Linked DNA regions of Homo sapiens: region 1 is linked to region 2. The links are contacts of gene promoters, found by promoter capture Hi-C in blood cells and fetal thymus (Javierre and others, 2016). All regions are on one chromosome and are shown on one strand. The core of a region is centred on a gene start or on the middle of the fragment in contact, and the rest is flanking DNA. Distances in the headings are between cores, read along the strand shown. Region 1 holds the start of KIF2A (kinesin family member 2A). Region 2 holds the start of ARRDC3 (arrestin domain containing 3).

What was found. Contacts are between HindIII fragments. The CHiCAGO score rates a contact against its expected background, and 5 or more counts as called.
Region 1: the fragment with the promoter of KIF2A here is called in contact with a fragment that was not itself captured in region 2 in 3 of 17 cell types (total CD4 T cells, non-activated CD4 T cells and naive CD8 T cells); the score reaches 9.4 in total CD4 T cells.

The regions. Positions count from the first base shown.
Region 1 is chr5:62,303,009-62,308,949 of GRCh38, reverse strand. It overlaps KIF2A (kinesin family member 2A), which reads right to left and starts at 2,744. Exons shown (of 21, transcript NM_001098511.3): 1 at 2,414-2,744. The coding sequence starts at 2,477. RefSeq lists a silencer at 2,011-3,040. The HindIII fragment of the contact is 9,341 bases long and covers 1-5,941 here.
Region 2 is chr5:91,378,931-91,385,502 of GRCh38, reverse strand. It overlaps ARRDC3 (arrestin domain containing 3), which reads left to right and starts at 2,186. Exons shown (of 8, transcript NM_020801.4): 1 at 2,186-2,690. The coding sequence starts at 2,411. ARRDC3-AS1 (ARRDC3 antisense RNA 1) reads right to left here and starts at 5,156. Exons shown (of 3, transcript NR_027435.1): 1 at 4,579-5,156. RefSeq lists enhancers at 1,420-1,719, 1,599-2,116 and silencers at 1,970-2,279, 4,425-4,494, 5,115-5,294. The HindIII fragment of the contact is 2,432 bases long and covers 2,448-4,879 here.

The DNA of each region.
Region 1 (5,941 bases), core at 1,495-3,994, about 29 Mb after region 2:
AGCAGATTAATATAGCTATCATTTCACATACTTTAACAAGAGCTGCTAAAATCCACTTATTTAACAAAAATCTCTAATACAATTTTACTAACATTGGTCCCCCTGTATCTCTAAACTTGTTCATCCTACATATCTGCTATTTTGTATCCTTGACCTATATCTCCCCATTTCCTCTCCTTCCCCACCACCAGTAGTAACCACTGTTTCGTTCTGTGTATTTTAGCTCCTTAAAAAAATATTCTACATATGAGTGAGATTATGCAATATTTTCCTTGGTGTCTGGCTTATCTCATTTAACATAACGTCCTTCAGGTCCATCTATGTTGTGGTAAACAGTAGGATCTCCTTTTTTAAGGCTGAATAATGTTCCATTGTACATTGTCTATACACACACATAAACGTATACACACACACATAATTTCTTTAGCCATTCCTCACCCATCGATGGACATTTAGGTTGCTTCCCTATCTTGGCTACTGTGAATAATGCTGCAATGAACGCGAGAGTGCAGATATCTTCACAAGGTGGTGATTTCCTCTCCCTTGGGTGTATACCAGGGACAGGTGTTGCTGTGCACCCAGAATCTTCAAAATAATATGTAAATCCTACTTTTGCTGGTATACTGTGAACTCGTATTTACCTAAAAAAATGACATTAACAGCACTCTTTCAAGAAAGTAATCTGAAGAGAAAATATAAAAGAAACCTCAACCCAAGTAAAGAAGGTATCTCTTTCCCATTAGTGTTATTGGTAATTTCTAAAGCTCTAAGCGGTATAATTTATCTTTTCATATACAGGATAACGATGGTTTCAGTTGTTACCACAAATTACTTCAAATATAACGGAGGAAAAAATCATTAGCTATATAGGGTCTTCCAATATATCATACACACAACATGAAAATCAATCTAGCTTCACGTAACTTGGTCAAACCTGGCAGAATCCAAGGGGCACGTGGACGTGACAGCCAAGTTACTACTGACTAGGCTAGGCTAAAGGTTAATAAATAAGGCACTCATAAAAGGAATCGAGGCCAGGCGCGATGGCTCACGCCTGTAATCCCAGCACATTGGGAGGCCGAGGCAGGTGGATCACTTGAGGTCAGGAGTTCGAGACCAGCCTTGTCAACATGGTGAAACCCCGTCTCTACTAAAAATACAAAAAATTAGCTGGGTGTGGTGACAACGCCTGTAATCCCAGCTACTCAGGAGGCTGAGGCACAAGAATAGCTTCAACACGGGAGGCGGAGGTTGCAGTGGGCCGAGATCGCACCACTGCACTCCAGCCTGGGTGAAAATCCGTCTCAAAAAAAAAAAAAAAGGAATCGGTATGAGAGATGGAGTCAGGAACACTGCTCAACTCGAGATTATCACACATCTCTCGTTCTTTCAATATTGGTACCGAAAGAAAATAATTTTACTTATCTCCCTCCGTGCATTTATTCCTTTACAATATGAATTATTTCCAGTCTGGCTGGCGTATCTCACTCCACACCCCAAGCTAGTGTCATAAACCATTTTCCCCAAGAGAAACCTAGAGAAAGATACATAAGCCTAAGGCTCTTAAAAAAAAAAATGAAGCATGTGTCTTCACCTCGCCTTACACTTTTCTCAGTTACCTCTCCCGAGGGTGTGAAAATATCAACATCCGGTCGCCCACCCCCACTCTCTCAGCAGTGCCTCGCATTGACTCTGCCCATCCCCTATCATTCCCTTTACAGTCTCATCACCTTGGAGAAGCCCATCGAATATTTCTTCCCATTGCTCCCCCACCCTTATTCATGGCTCAGCGCGATATTCTCCACATTTTTCTCCCAAGAAGTGGCAAAAAAGAAAGCAGCATGGTCGACGACGAAACCGGGGAGGCCTGACAACCAGACGGCAGTTTAAGGCGACGGAACTGGCTCTTTCCCCCCATCTCGGCCTCCGACCAGCAGTCGGTTCTCTAAATGTGAAATCGCTGGTCTTCCCGCTCCCCCACCCCCATCCCCATCCCCGTCAGAGGCCAAGCCGGTAAAATGCAAAGACCAAGGGGAAGCGCGAGGCAGGGTCATCCCTAACGAAGCCCGCTCCCTCCCGGGCTGGTGTCCCCGGGGGGGGGCTGGAGATTGCGGGAGGAGGAGCGAGCGGCCCTCGCCCAGAGACCCCCGGAGACGCGACCCTCGACACCCGGGCCCTTTCCCCACCCGGCTTCCCTCCCCCGCGGCCCGATCCGGAGAACTGCAGCAGCGCCCGGGCGGACCCCAAGCCGGCCTCACTGGCACACACGCCACACACAAAAGCGCCGCGGCCGCCGCCTTCCCACCCCCACAGCCCGGCGAAGCAATCAATGAGGCGGCCGGCGCCCGCGTCCCCTCCGTGCACACCCGAACACGGGGCCGAGCGGGCCAGCGGGGCTGGCAGCGCGGCTCACCATCGCTGCGCTTGATCTCCACGTAAATCCCGATCTGGATCTTGCCGAAGTTGGCCGTTGCCATCACCTCATCTGGAGCAGCAGCAGCGGGCCGAGGGAGGGGGACCGGAGGGCGGAAAAGGCGGGGAGGGGGCGGGGTAGGTGTGGGAGGGGGAGCGGTTGCCCGCGGCCGCGCCGGCCCGGGCGACAGCGTGAACGCAAGCGGGGCCGCAAGGAGCAGCTGTGGGGAAGCAGGCGGAGGCCCCGGGCCTGCAGGCCGGCAGGAGGACGCGCACGCCGGGTAGTCGGGGTGAAGCTAGGGCCGGGGCCGTGAGACGGCGCGGGGTAGAGTGGGAGGGCCCGCACCGCCCGCCGGGGAGCCGACGCTGGGGAGGCGGGGCGCCGCGCGCCTGCGCAGAGCGCGCCTCCGGCGTCTCTTCTTCCTTTTCGGCTGGCCTCTCCCCGCTGCCTCCAGGCGGCCCCGCCCAGCTCTGCAGCGGGGTGGGCGGCGGCCGCGGCTTACCCAGCCGCTGGAGCGTTGAGCGCTCGGCCCGGCCCACAGCTAGCCGGCGTCGCGTTTGATTTCAGCGCGCGGCCTAGAAGACGCGGGAAGCGTCGCGCCGAGCTTTCTTGCCCTCTCGCTTCCGGGAATTGGCGCTGTTGCCGGAATGGGTTAAAGGCCACGTGGTTTCAGGGGCTTTCTAGCGGGCTGAGGGATGTGAATTCAAGGGCCCTCCGTTGACAGTACGGGATCCGGGTTTTCATCGGAAGGTGGCACCCCCTATTTCCACTTACAGGTAGCTGACCCAAGCAGCCCTCCCAAGCACACTTGGTGTAGGTTTCCCATCCAGTTACGCTGGAAGGGAAGAAACACCCTTGAGGTGTCACCTACCCTAAATCGAAATGAAGATCCACCCCTTTACAGTCTTGCCTTATAGTTTATCACACTCAGAAAGAAGCTCTGTGGTGGGGCGTCCTTAACTGTTCAGGTTATGAGGCATCCGATGCTGGTGCCCTGTTTCTGCTGAGGGTTCAAGACTTACTTGCCTTGGCCTGTAAAGCCAACAACTGTGACTCAAGGGAAGAAGGCAGACACATAAGGTTGACTAGGGAATGTGTCTTTTTGCAATAATTTAATTAGTCTGACCACATCAGCAATGTGGAAAGCAAGACTCTCCATCCTGGCAGAGCAGGAAGGCCACGTGTACCGGGGCCCTGGAAACTGTATTTATAGCACCGTGTGAAAACCTCCAAACGTCTAACTCCTGCTTGTAGTACTGGCAATTGATAGGTTGGAAACAACACTTTTCATGGCCTACTTTCCCTAGTCATTGTTTTTTGTTGTTGTTGTTTTGTTTTGTTTGTTTTTGAGGGGGAGTCTTGCTCTGTCGCTCAGGCTGGAGTGCAGTGGCGCGATCTCCGCTCACTGCAATCTCTGCCTCCTGTGTTCAAGCGATTCTCACGCCTCAGCCTTCCGAGTAGGTGGGATTACAGGCCCGCGCCACCACGCCTGGCTAATTTTTGTATTTTTAGTAGAGACGGGGTTTCACCATGTTGGCCAGGCTGGTCTCAAACTCCTGACCTCAGGTAATCCACCCGCCTCCACCACCCAGAGTGCTGAGATTACAGGCATGAGCCACTGCGCCCGGCCTTCCCTAGTCATTGATAATCTCCCTGTAACAATAACTACAAATATACAATTTAAAATTTTAAAATTGGAAACTGGATATATACATCAATGCTTATGTGGATATATGTGTGCCTAGAGTTTTCTATCTAATGTAAGTAATCATGTAGGTCCTTAAAAAACTGTTAAAAGACTGGCTTCATCTGTAGCTTGAACATATTGAAGGTATACCTGTCAAAAGAACAATTCTATTGAATCCATTCTAAAGTGCATATAATTTCTATGGAAAAAAAACCACACTGGATAGACAATGTGGAAAATAACTTCTTTTACATTCCAGAAATGACACACTTGAGTACCCCGGTTTCAAGTGAAATTTGACCAAATCAGGGTTTAGTTTTTATTTTTTCTATAATTTTGGGAGTTTTATCTGAACTCTTCAAGCTCCTGTCTAGAATTCATTTTCTGATGTCTCTGCAACTGAGGTATAAAACATCTATTTATATTTTATTTATACTTTATAAAGAATGCAAAGAAATCAAGCTATACAGCTCAAAGTTAACATTGTTTCATAAAATATTATTATTATTATTATTAGAGACGAAGTCTAACTCTGTCGTGCCTAGGCTAGAGTGCAGTGGCATGATCTCAGCTCACTGCCACCTCCACCTCCCAGGTTCAAGTTATTCTCCTGCCTCAGCCTCCCAAGTAGTTGGGACTACAGGCGTGTGCCACTACGCCCAGCTAATTTTTTGTATTTTTAAAATAGAGACGAGGTTTCACCGTGTTAGCCAGGATGGTCTCGATCTCCTGACCTCATGATCCTCCCGCCTCAGCCTCCCAAAGTGTTGAGATTACGTGAGCCAACACGTCCAGCCAATAAAATATTATTTTGTATCGTGGTTGCTGACACATACCTTACACTCTGTGGTTTATATGGTTAATCTTAACCTTTAATCCATATAAAAGGTATTTTTAAAATATGTACATTGTTTTGCTCCATAAAAATGTATGACATAACACTTAACAAACACAAAACCTTTCCTTTATAAGACATACCCAAAAGGCTTACTTTTTTTGGTACACATCAGCATATGTATTTACCAAGACTTTCATTATGGGCTTTGTATGCTAGTGGCTTCCTAAAGAGCAGCCATAAATACATGCAATGTGGCTATGTTTCCATCAACATCCTGGATCAAATATTCTAACTCTGGCTGAGACATTAACAAGATATATAATCCTAACTAGAACTACTACTAATAAGATCCTGAATTAGTAACTACTAATTAATCACTAAGATATATACCCTACTAAGAACTACTGTTTTTATTAGGATTATATAGTCTGCACTCAGACATTTGTTCAATGAGTTAACTTCTTAAACTGCTCAGTATCTCAGTTACCTCTTTGATCAACCTGGAATAATAACTTACATTCTCTCAATCACAGAAAGTTTTTGTGAGGACAAATGAAATAAAATGTGATAGTGCCTTGATATTTATAATTTTTTTTTTTTGAGATGAAATCTCACTCTGTCGCCCAGGCTGGAGTGCAATGGTGCAATCTCGGCTCACTGCAACCTCTGCCTCCCGGGTTCAAGCAATTCTCCTGCCTCAGCCTCCCGAGTAGCTGGGATTACAGGCACCTGCCACTACACCCGGCTAATTTCTGTATTTTTAGTAGAGATGGGGTTTCACCATGTTGGTCAGGCTGGTCTCAAACTTCCGACCCCAGATGATCCACCCGCCTCAGCCCCCCAGAGCACTGGGATTACAGGCGTGAGCCAACGCGCCTGGCCTGTAATTTGTTTTATAAAAGTAAACCATCCTATAAAATATAACCCAGGCCAGGTGCTGTGGCTCATGCCTGTAATCCCAGCATTTTGGGAGGCCTAGATAGGAAGATCCGTTGAGCTCAGG
Region 2 (6,572 bases), core at 2,414-4,913:
ACTATTCAAAAGATCCTGAAAGCTTCAAACACAAAGAATAATGTACTACACAGTGACAGGAATGAAACATTTAATATTTTAAAACAATTTTCCAAACTACAAATAAATTTCTTAGACTTCTTTTTTATTAAATGCAATTCTGGTGTATTTATATAGCTAATTCTTATTTTTTCTGAAATGAGTTATATTCTAATTAAATAAATTTTACTAAAAAAATCCGAATTCAGCTGTTCACTAACCCTTAATAATTTTTAACATAAATGTAGACACAAATGTGCAATGAATTTATGTATTCATTATGGACTACACTTTTAAATCCATTCCTTGCTCAGTGGTTTTCGAATGCTTATTAAATATCATTGACCTTATGCTGAGGAAAAGCTGTCATTCTAGGAAATTCACCACTTCTACCACTAGGTGGAGAAAAAACACAAGTAGTATCTGTAATCAAAGCTAGTACAAGGCCCCAGGTACTTTACCTAGAATTTCCACCAGGTGTCAACCAAGAGGTAGGGAAAAGATAAGACTGTTTTTCCCACTTAAATATGCAAATTTATAATTTTATGCATAGCGATCTAAACTCTGAAATAAATGGCCTGCTCATTAATTGTCTAGTTTGCATATTTATACTCTTTATATATTGCTGTTGAGTCCAAGATATTGCCTTGTCAACTAAAATCCAACCCCCAAAAGCTTAGTTTCTTTTGAAATAAAACAGCAAGACCAATAAGTTTAGTTTATTGTGACTCATAGGCTCAACCTATCCATATACACTACGCAAAAGAATCTAAAACGTTTAGACACGGACAGCCAAAAATCTTCCAAGGTATTTTTGGTCATACATATATATATAGAGAGAGCACCAGATTCATATTTTTTCTTTCTACATTTCTCTTGTAAGGCAGTTCTGTTGATTGCCAGTAATCTAGATGAGTTTATGCTGTTATGCTCTGAATCCCAGTGTGATGTGACGAAAGCACTGCTATTTTTTACCAAACATTCACAATAAAAAGAGAAATGTACCTATATTTAAGATGTATCATGAGAATTACTACGTTAAATGGTCCAAGGCTCTCGGCCGAAAATTAAAGCTTCACACAGTTAAATCCCTATTTATATACCAAATCATGCTTTTTAAAAACAATTTTATGCGCTTCACTAATTTCTAACAAAGATTTTCCGATTCTGTTGCAAACAATATGTCAGCTAAACCACTATGTCATATGCCTTTTATAAGGTAGTACTTTTTTAGGCCGAACTCTATTCTTATTCCTCTGGACACAGGAGTTGTAATCATGTCTTACTCTGCAAATCTAGCCGTAGGTGGTGTCTTAAAAGGACTTTTTCTTCCTTCGAGGAAGTGATCAAGCTTCCCCCAGCCCCCACCCGTGTCATCCTGGAAACAACTTGGTTGTTTTTCGGTGCTAATTAAGCAATGTAGGAGAAAGAAGTTGAGGAGACAGCAAAGCCTATTGATTACATTGTACTTGCTTCTCTACCTCGCTCTTCAAAGGATTAAGGTTCCTTTGACCTCGACTGAGTTCATTTCCAACCTGCCTACAAAGTACTGGTTTAAAAAAAAAAAATCCAAGCAAAGTATGCTCTTGTCTATGAACAATATTTCTTGTCCGGTTTTATTACGTTTTCTTTGGAAATTCGTTAGATTATGCTCAACAATCGGCCGCTTGCCCAACCGGTTTCTCCCTTCCCCCATCTCTCTTCACACATCACTTTTTCCTCCTCCCATCCAGGCAGTTGGTAAAACGCTGCAGTGCCGGTAACGCACGCTTCGGGCTGGTCGCTGCAGTTTATCCTAACTTGGCTTTGCAAACTCCCCACCCAGCCCTTGTACCCTCGCACCCCACTCTGCCATTATCTTTCTAGTAGAGTGCGCTCGGTAACGGGCTCCAGATAGCACGTCGAGGGTATACGGTAGCCTGCCTACCAATAGGAGCCCACAATGAAGAGAAGTCAGGTTCAGCCGGCCAGCAGCTCCAGTATCTCCTTCCCCTAGCTCTACACCTACTGTACCCGGGAGCGAGCGGGCAAGGGAGCGAGCGCGGCGCGGCGCGGCGCGGGAGGGGGCGCGCAGGGAGGGCGGACAGCAGCCGCGGCCTGCGCCTGCGCACTGGGGTTGTTTTTCACAAAGCTGCTCTTAAAGTGAGCTGGCAGCTTTTAGCCGCCCGTCTTTGTAAGGAGACCACTGAGACGAGCGGGAGCGCGGAGCAGCAGCCTCTGCTGCCCTGACTTTTTAAGAAATCTCAATGAACTATTTGTAGAGAATCACTGATCCGGCCTGCAAGCATTTTGCACGGCAAAAATATCGATCAGTGTTAAGTGAAGATCACATTTTATATGCGATCTTGACTTTTTTGTCTTACATTATATTTTTATAGATTTTGTTATAAACATGGTGCTGGGAAAGGTGAAGAGTTTGACAATAAGCTTTGACTGTCTTAATGACAGCAATGTCCCTGTGTATTCTAGTGGGGATACCGTCTCAGGAAGGGTAAATTTAGAAGTTACTGGGGAAATCAGAGTAAAATCTCTTAAAATTCATGCAAGAGGACATGCGAAAGTACGCTGGACTGAATCTAGAAACGCCGGCTCCAATACTGCCTATACACAGAATTACACTGAAGAAGTAGAGTATTTCAACCATAAAGACATCTTAATTGGGCACGAAAGAGGTAAGTTTTTGTTATTCATAAGTCATTGGACTCATTTTCTTTGGAAACGTACCTTTTCAGTTTTCTGAATTAACGTGATTCTACTCCTAGCATAACTAAGCAGTTTGAGAAAGGTTAGCAAAGTTGGAAGGTTTGGATTCTCCTTGACGTTCATCGTGTGTTAAGCCGTAATGCATGCAGGCATCTGCAAAGTGACTGCAAACTACACTTATTCAGCTACCTCTGTACCCGGCTCGGTCTGTGCCACACGCACTTGTAGTCCATTTGCACCTTACTTATAAATTCTGTTTGAATCCAATTCAGTCGTTTTACTAATATATTTTCAAATGAATTGGTAAAAGCTGCAGTCTTAGATTTTTGCCCTTTTACTTGCAACCTAAGATGTAAAAACTGAACTTCGATCAAGAAATGTAATAACATTTTTAAGAGACTTAATGGGTGTGTTTCATTTTTAATATTGGAATGCAAAAGACTTTAAATAATTGATGACTGTTCTTTCATAAAAGATTTCTGTGGCTTATTTTGACATATGGTATCAACACCCCACGTGTTTTTTCTCTATTCTTTACCATTCCTTTAAAAATTTACACCCAGCATTCCTTATTTTAAAGGAATGACTATCTGTCATTATGATAGGTATCGAGTCAGGTTTAGAAGCCATTTAGGATCAGTAATTTTCTTTTCCGAGCATCATGTCTAACTTTGGAACGTGCATTCAATGAAACCCATGCCAGTCAAATGGAATTGAAAAGTATAGGGCACACTGGATTTGATTTTTGGTTAGAAGAGAGAGATAAAGGGTTGTCAAAAGGAGAAGGAGTCCTGAGATTTCCAATCTATTGTTTAAATGGTTACATTGTGGAAATATAGGAGACTCTAGGCTTGTTTTTCTAAGTTTCCACCCTTTGTTAGAAGCGGTTCAATCCTGTTTCGGACCAGTTCTGGGGGGTGGTGAGGAGGGGCGCTTGTTCTGCTCTCAGCAGATTGGTTACACGCGTCAGGTGGTGGCGATGACTTAATTCCTAGCCCAAGAAGAATATAATGTTAAAACTGGTTATGTAATTTTTGTGCCTCTCCTTTTTAATGCAGTATTTAGTTCAGATGTTGGCGATTTTTCAGAAAAAAAATTAGAGACATATTTTACCTTATTTTTTATATTAAAAACGTACATCCTGGAGAAGTGCTGATGACTAAGGCAAGTGAGAAATGAAGGATGCTTTGAGGGACAGTATTAATGCATTATTTTTGAAACTATTAAGGTGAACTCAGTTCTTTAGCAGGATTTTCGTAGTTAGATACAGGTACTTTGCATCCTGAAATAACTAATTAATCTCTCCAAGTGTTAACACTGATAGGAGATGCAAATGCCTAATGACAGCCTTGGTATTTGTTGAAAAGCAGATAGATGACTTTGTGTTTGTACCTTTCTGAATATTGCAGCCTTTTATGAAACGGATGAAAGAAAACAGATTTTTCCTCAAGGGGTTAAGACTTGCAGTGGGGAAAAGTAGAACAACGAGATGTGAGGACAAATATAATTTCATTAGTTGCACCATGATTTCGTGGTAAAGAAAACTAAATGCCCTGCACCCCCAACAAAATGCCCCCCAAACCCTGCAACGCGTAGACGAGCTCAGTCTGGAATAGTTTCAATGACTTGAAACTGGGAGCTCTCAAACTAGCCTGGTAACTGAGACCCCGCCCCGGGCGCCCGGGATAGGCGGAGCCAGGTTTGTTAGCCTGTTGCTAAGGCGATGGCAGGCGCTGATTGGATTGGGCGCGGGCGGGTGGGGAGAGTGAGCTCGCGCCGCGGCTGGGGCGAGGCTAGGAAACCGGCGTGCGCCGGTAAAGGTTCCTCCAGAGCGACCCCCACCCAGCCCGTACTCACGTTTGTTCCCGGGCTTCTGGGGGCGCCCAGCCCGTGTCAACATCATGTTCTGTCGCCCCTCTTTTGGGCCTCCTAAGGGCCATCGAAAGGAAACGACTTCAGGCTTTAACTGAGTAGAGGGCAGACGCTCCTGCCGGCCTTACAGGTGCTGGATGGCCATGGACCCAACTTTAGCAGAAAATCCTTTTCAGATGGAAGTTGGATGGGAAGGGTTGGCAGGACCCCCGTTAGCTATCTTCCGAGTGGGAGGTGTCAGGGGACTCCTGTGAACGCTTGTTTTCCCCTTAGCTGAAACAAAGCTTGTTCCCCGACCTCTCCAGTCGCCACACTGTCTACCTTGAGTTGACCTGAGGGGACAGAGCAAAGGCTGGCCCGAGGAAGAAGGAAAGTGATTCCAATATCGAAATGTTGGGGGAGGGGGGGGCTTCGACGGGTATCCTCTGCCCCCTCCCCCATCGTTTTCCGAAGCCTTCGGGCCCCCGCCTCCCCTTCGCCACCCCAATATCCCTTGCCGAAACTAAAGGTGTCAGAGTGGCCCGAGCCAGATGGAACCGGTCGCCGGCTGGGGCGTGTAAAGCGGAAGCGCCGCGGCTCGCTCGCCCCGCCCCCCGGCCAGCAGGCTAGGTTGCGCGGGCACGGGCGCGAGCGCCGCGCGACGTATGCCGTATGTATAGCGGGGCGCGCGGGCGGCAGCGGCGGCGGCGGCGGCGCGCGGGCAGGCCGGCTGGGATCTGCTCGCGCCGGTTTAGGCCGGTCCTCTCCTGCTCCGGTCTAGTTCTTGATTGACAGCCCGGCACTTGTTTACCACGGCGCGGCCGCCGCCGCTCGCTTCAATGAGACTGCTGAGCTGGCACAAAAAGGGAGCGAAGAGGGAAGAAAGGGAAAGGAAGGCGAACTTCGGGCGCCTTCGAGGGGAGCGAATTTAAATGGCCCCCAGCTCATCAGCTAGTTTTTGGTTCTGAAATCCGTTCAGGGGAATTTGCACAGGGGACGAGGAAAATTGTATGGAGACATAAGCGAATCACCATGATTTTTAAATGAAAGTATCGACGTATACATGCTTTTTTCCCCCTTTTTCTCGTTTAATATCAGGGAGGCATCACGTTTTTTGTGTATATCCAATACTTTGCTGAAGGAAAGTTAAATAATGTGCCAGTTTTTTCTACTCTGGGGGCTAATCGTAAAGGTTTCTACACCAAGAAAACTTTAAAAGATATTTCTGTAATTATTTAAAACGCTAAATAGGCACTTTAATGATCTAGAACCCCCTCCCATATTTTCGATTATATTTATTTTCATGCCACTTGAAAAAAAATAATTTCACCAAAAAAATTGGTTGTAAAATGAAAGGTCATCCCTTTTTTATAGAAACTGGAAACTATTAATAGTTAGACTTCATTTTTTTCAAGGATGTTGGAAAATATTGTTTCCTTATAAGCCGACACCACCTAAATGCGGTTCTTTGTAATTATCTAAGGTATAGTTTATGCAAGTTTTAGTCGTTGCTAGGACCAACTGAGTGTTGTGATCATTTTAGATCAATAAATAATTATTTTTAGTTCAATAAATAATTATTTTTAGTTATAAATCTGACATTAAAATCAATGTGTGGCTTTTTTTTTTTTTTTTTTTACTCCGTCTATTTGACAAGGTTTTCTAGTGGTTTTGGAGTATCTATTCTATTCACATCTGGTATTATTATTCCCTATAAACTGACATATTTTAAGAGGGTTGCATGAACAGTTTTTCTTTGATACATTATAGTCTTAATGTGATAAATTTAAGCAAACCGTTGGAGACAAAGGATAGCATTGTCTTACCATGATGTGAGACCCGAGCCTTTTGAGTATATATACTATTTTATAAACAGATGCTTTGCAGTTTGGGTCATTTTCCATTAGAAAAAATAAAAAGCCTGTGGGGTGTGAGTATTCATTATCCCCATTTTACAGATAAGGCAGCTGACGACAGGATTTTTATTTTGTCCAGAGGAA